Linked DNA regions of Homo sapiens: region 1 is linked to region 2. The links are contacts of gene promoters, found by promoter capture Hi-C in blood cells and fetal thymus (Javierre and others, 2016). All regions are on one chromosome and are shown on one strand. The core of a region is centred on a gene start or on the middle of the fragment in contact, and the rest is flanking DNA. Distances in the headings are between cores, read along the strand shown. Region 1 holds the start of SLC35A3 (solute carrier family 35 member A3). Region 2 holds the start of GPR88 (G protein-coupled receptor 88).

Region 1 (2,700 bases), core at 96-2,595, 570 kb after region 2:
AGCGAGACTCCGTCTAAAAAAAAAAAAAAAGAATCATATTGATTTTACTGGAGCCACCGTCAGACTCAAATTCTGAAGGAAAAATCTGAAGCCTCCCTAAATAATATAAAATTTATTAAATGCCTCCCTAAATAATTTACATTTTATTCTGAAGCCGATCGAGAGTCACTGCGTATTTCTGAGGAAGGAATAACCAAAAAAAGAAAGTCATAAGATCTTTGGCTTTAAAAGTAATATGGAGGCAAGTGACTGGAAGGGTGCCAGGCTGAGGACAAGTCCAGTTTGGAAGTTATTGCTATAGTGCAAGTAAGAAGAGGAAAGACGAGCATATTTAGCAGACAGGTAGTGGGAATGAAAAAGGGGAGAACTAAATTTGAGATGCTGAAGAGATAGAATCAACAGTTGGGAGGAAAGTTAGCCTCAGAAATATAAGTTTACAAGTCATTCCCTTGAAACACCCTGAGTTTACCAGTGAAAGTGAATAAGAACACCAAGTAAGAAACTGCACCAAATTTCATCTTTAACTACTAAAGTCGAATGTTGATTTCAAAAACGAAAAGACTTAATTTTCAAATACTGCATTTAAGAGAACATAATAAAAGATCGTCTTTTACTATAAAGCAATGCACCCACACACCTGTTCTGATGAGAATCTCACCCCACTTCAAACAGTCCTTGTGTTCTTACTAGCCTTACCAAGGGCAGCCTTTCCATTTCTTTAAGTTCCTGCGGCTTCTTGAGCTCCAGGTGCTGGTCGGGTGCATCTGTGCCTACCACAGGGCTCAACACCGAGCGAGAGCTCATGGGATGTTCACTGAAGGAATGACGGGCCCCAGCCGGGCCCACCCGTCACTAGCTCCGCACGCACCAGGCGCTGAGGCACACACTGCCGTCTTCATTCGCTTGACACACCCCTCTCCTCGGGCCTTTTTTCCTCCTCCACCCAGTACATTCCGCACGTCGTCCGTCGGAGTTACAACGTGTCACCTCATCTGCTCCCACCCCTACTTAGCTAGCACTGTATTTCAGGTCTTCGATACCGTCCCCTTCACCCCTACAGACTTCACATCAGCCCCCTCGCATGCCTCCTCTTCCTCCTCCTCCAGGAGCTTCCCGGGCCGCCCCGCAGCCGCTAGCCTCCTGGTTCCCGCCCCTCCCCAGGTGCGCTGAGGACTCACCTCCCGCGCAGCTCGACCGGCTGAGCCCACCACCGGGGGCCGCGGTTCAGCTCCGCCGGGCGCCCCAGGCTGCCGAGTCCGCTGGGTCCTACGCGACCGCTGACCCGCAGCGCCGCCGGCTCCCGTCGCCGTAGCCACCGCCAGCTCGGTGCAGCCCAGGCGTTTCCGGGTTCCCGCGGTCCCGTCCCCCAAATGCTCCGGCTTCCGCCTCGGCTCTGGCAAATGCCGTTCCCGGCTCGGCTCTGGCAGCCCCAGCTCGGCACTTGGCAGCTCTGTCCCTAAGGCGACGCACCTGGGCTGCTCTGCTGGCAGCCCCTGGTTCCTGCTTCACCGTCGCGTGGAGGCCTGGGGCACTGCTTTCTGCTACACCTCTCCTAGGAGCGCGAAACAGATGGAGTGACACTCGTCGAGGGCCTCTGCGGGACTGTCTGTTTGCAGAGGGTGCCAAGGTGTCCACTGCGTAAGGAAGGGCAAAGTCCTTTGGGGCAAAGAACCCTGAGAGGAACGGGGAGATGGATTTTGAAAGCAAACGAACCCTCTCCTAAAAGTGACTGTCACTGACCTGAAAACAACCAGATTAGCTATGGCAAAGGCTGCCAACCAACCAGTGGTCTGCAAGAAGGCTTGTTCTTCCACTTCACCCACCCTGACTGAGATCTTGAGACTGAAGGAAACCCAAAGCCGTACCACCAATGGGCCTAGTGTCATCAACCGGGAGAGGAAAAAGAAAACTGGGCCCAGAGGATTGCAGAGTTATGAGGGACCAACCCCTTCCTGGCTGCATGGATCACAGCATTACCTTTTAAAAGTGTTCCAGTAGCTGTGTTGGAAACCCTCTAACCACGGCAGCCCATTCAGGTGATGAACAGGCTGAAATCAGTACTTCAGGTTCAGCTGGATTATCAAATAAGCGAATAGGATTATCTCTTTTTGTTAACTCAGGGCTGCTATAAATTAAGCCTATGTCTCTTTATATTGCAAATGATTAAAACCATGTCCAAGAGAGACATACTTAGAAAAAAAGTGATATTGAAGAAAAATAAGTAACTGTATTAGAGTAGAATAACTGGTTTTAAAATTTTCTGCAATACAGTCTTGAGAAAATTCCTGGATGGTAAAATACATATTAGATCTTAATACATGCCCAGTTTTTTTTGAAACCAAAATGTGCCTGTTAGATGATGATAACAGCATGCCTCGTTTTATTGTGATTTGCTTTATTGCTCTTCACAGACATTGCTTTTGTTTTTTTGTTTTTTTTTTTTACAAATTGAAGGTTTGTGGCAACCTTGCCTCAAGCACATCTATTGGTGCCATTTTTCCAACAGCATGTGCTCACTTTGTGTCTCTGTGTCACATAATATTCAATAATTTTTGCAATATTTAAATTTGTTCATCATTATTATATCTGGTATAGTGCTTTGTGATCAATGATCTTTGATGTTACTATGGTAATTGTTTTGGGGTGCTGATATGGTTTGGCTGTGTCCCCACCCAAATCTCAACTTGAACTGTATCTCCC
Region 2 (2,726 bases), core at 89-2,588:
CAGGGCGAGCGCCCAGGACAGCGCCAGCATGCCCGCCGTGTGGCGCCTCTGGTACAGCGCCTGGTAGGTGGCGGGCGCCCGGGTGATGAGCAGGTAGCGGTTCAGGGCCACGAGGCAGTGGGAGAGGAGGGACACCGTGAGTCCGAGGCCCAGCAGCCCACCCCGTAGCAGGCGGTAGCTGCCCCCAGCGCCGTCCCAGTCTGCGGGGGGCTCCGCAGAGCCGGTGGGCAGGAGCCCGAGCACCGCCTCCTGCGGCATCCAGAGGGCGCAGACGCTGAGGTCGGCGGCGCAGCCGTTCACGATGAAGGCGTTGCTGGTGGTCTGCAGCTTTCGGAAGGACGACACGAGATAGATGACCATGCCGTTGGCCAGCGTGCCCCCGATGGCCAGGCCCGAATACAGGAGTGACACCGGGATGCGCCGGCCCGCCCACGACTCCTCTTCCTCGCAGAGCAGCAGCAGCGAGCCACCGGTGGTGGAGGAGGTGGATGTGGAGGAGGAGTTGGTCATTCTGGCCAACTCTTCACACCTCCCTCGCTAGCGTCGGCTTCTGGCAGCGCGGTCCATCCTGACACTGTCCTGCCTGCCAGAAGGGCAAAGACATCCCTTCAGCCCTCTGCCACTGACACAAAAGGCTGAAGCAGAATAATGGGCTGGGGGAGGGGGAGAAAGGGAGCTCGAGGAGGAGGACGGGGGTGGCAGATGACAGGTGCCTGCCTCGGAAATGTCTCCAGAGCCAGGGGAAAGGCCACTTTGCATTGGATTCAGCAGGTATCGGGGAAGCCCTAGGACAGAGCAATACCTAAAACAGTCTCCTCTTCTCCCCCAACACACACACACACACACAGAGAGAGAGAGAGAGAGAGAGAGAGAGAGAGAGAGAGAGATATGTTGCCAGCTGGAGGACCTAGTTCCAGGAGAAAGCAGAGATATCCCAGCTGGGGAAAATCCCATGGGAAAGAGGTGAAGGTTACCTTGCGTTTAGGCTGGTCCTTAGCCGGTGTCTCAGGGGGAGGGATGCCGGGAAATACCTCCTCAGCAACAGCATCAGTGGTCCAGAAATCAACAGGAGAAACTCAGCTGGGATCAGTGCCAGGAGCAAGTGCCCGCTTCTCCCAAGCAGCATCCACACACATGGTCCTGGGCAGGAACTAGCAGCTGCAGGGAGACTTCTCAGCTGGTATCAGGGCTGGAGAAAGTAAAGTGGCGGGCTGCAAGCCCAGGCGGGTGGGCAGGCAGGCAGCAGCAGCAAGAATGCTTGGCTGCAAAAGCAGAAGCTGAGCTCAAGAGGAGAGCACCCTGTGCTCAGAAGCAGGAGTGGTGGCTGATGTGGTGAACCCACTCGAAGCTCTCTCCTGCTTAGTTATACATCATCCAGGGAAAAGACAGCCTTTCCACGCTTGGCATGAATTATTCAATAGCTTCCAACTTGTAAAAGGAAGAAAAATATCTTGCTCAGAAAGTCCTGTCGTTAACAAGTTTCTCTGTCTTTTCTCTCTCCCAATCACCTTATTTTTCATCCTGTTTCATTTTTCTTTCCGTCCTTTTTTTCCCTCCCTTCAATATTAGAATAAAATTTAATATACCCTAGAGTATTTCATCTCAGTCTGATGCATTTTGTGGGCAAGATTTTTCTGTGAGATAAATATATTCCCAGTACCCAGGACTGATCTCTTTATTCCCACATTTTTTAACGAGAATTACTTTATGCACTACTTGAAATTCATTTTTCTTTGGTAAAGTGGAACATAGACAATTATCCACAGAAAATCTCCATTCCTCAATTTAAATCGTACTTTCAGTGTTTTCTCATCAACAAACTCCTTTCCGGAGTTTGTTTTGTGTTTTAGTAATGAAATGGTTAGAGGGTAAAAATGAAATGGGCAAAAGATTTAAAGCAGATGTCAGTGGTACATCTAGACAATGGAATATTATTCAGTGCTAAAAAGAAATGAGCTGTCCAGCCATGAAAAGACATGAAGGAACCTTAAGTGTGTATCACTAAGTGACAGAAGCCAACTGGAAAGGACTACATACTGTATGCTACCAACTATGACATTCTTGAGAAGGCAAAACTATGGAGACAGTTAAAAAGACCAGTGGTTGCCCGAGTTAGGGGGAAAGGAGGAATGAATAGATGATCACGGAAGATTCTTAGGACAGTGGAACTACTCTGTATGATACCATAATAGTGGATCTGTGTACTTATAAATTTGCCCAAAGTGGCAGAATGTGAAACATCAGTGTAAGCCATGGACTTTGGGGAATGATGTGTCAACGTACATTCAATTGTAACAGACGAACCACTCTGGTGGGGGATTTTGATAATGGGAGAGGCTATGTATGCGAGGGGCAGGGAGTACATGGGAAATCTCTGTATCTTTCACTCAAATTTGCCATGAATCTAAAATTGCTCTAAAAAAATAAAGTCAATTTTAAAAAAATGTGTGTCAGGGGGAAAGCAAGAAACCTGAATAATCCACAGTGTGAACAAAGATGACTTTTCACTTCAGAACTTTTTGTCTTGTCTGTCTTGGAGATTTGCAGTCTGATGTTGGCATCTTCTTTGGTGCAAGTGTTCATTTATCCATTCCATGTGGGAATTTTTTCAGAAAAGGAGTTCTCTCAATTATTCACTGGAAAAGTCATGTATTTGAAAATGTAACTCAATATGGGAATATGGTAACATGGCATAATAGAAAAAAATGTTAGGTGGGGTTGCAGCA

The links. Contacts are between HindIII fragments. The CHiCAGO score rates a contact against its expected background, and 5 or more counts as called.
Region 1: the fragment with the promoter of SLC35A3 here is called in contact with the fragment with the promoter of GPR88 in region 2 in 1 of 17 cell types (activated CD4 T cells); the score reaches 5.1 in activated CD4 T cells.

The regions. Positions count from the first base shown.
Region 1 is chr1:99,968,641-99,971,340 of GRCh38, reverse strand. It overlaps SLC35A3 (solute carrier family 35 member A3), which reads right to left and starts at 1,345. Exons shown (of 8, transcript NM_012243.3): 1 at 1,179-1,345. The region is part of intron 1 of LOC124904230 (a long non-coding RNA gene); the gene reads left to right. RefSeq lists enhancers at 896-985, 1,706-1,755, 1,816-1,865 and a silencer at 1,106-1,305. The HindIII fragment of the contact is 6,900 bases long and covers 1-2,700 here.
Region 2 is chr1:100,536,751-100,539,476 of GRCh38, reverse strand. It overlaps GPR88 (G protein-coupled receptor 88), which reads right to left and starts at 1,338. Exons shown (of 2, transcript NM_022049.3): 1 at 975-1,338; 2 at 1-583. The coding sequence starts at 510. RefSeq lists enhancers at 1-64, 217-616, 65-914. The HindIII fragment of the contact is 8,214 bases long and covers 1-2,726 here.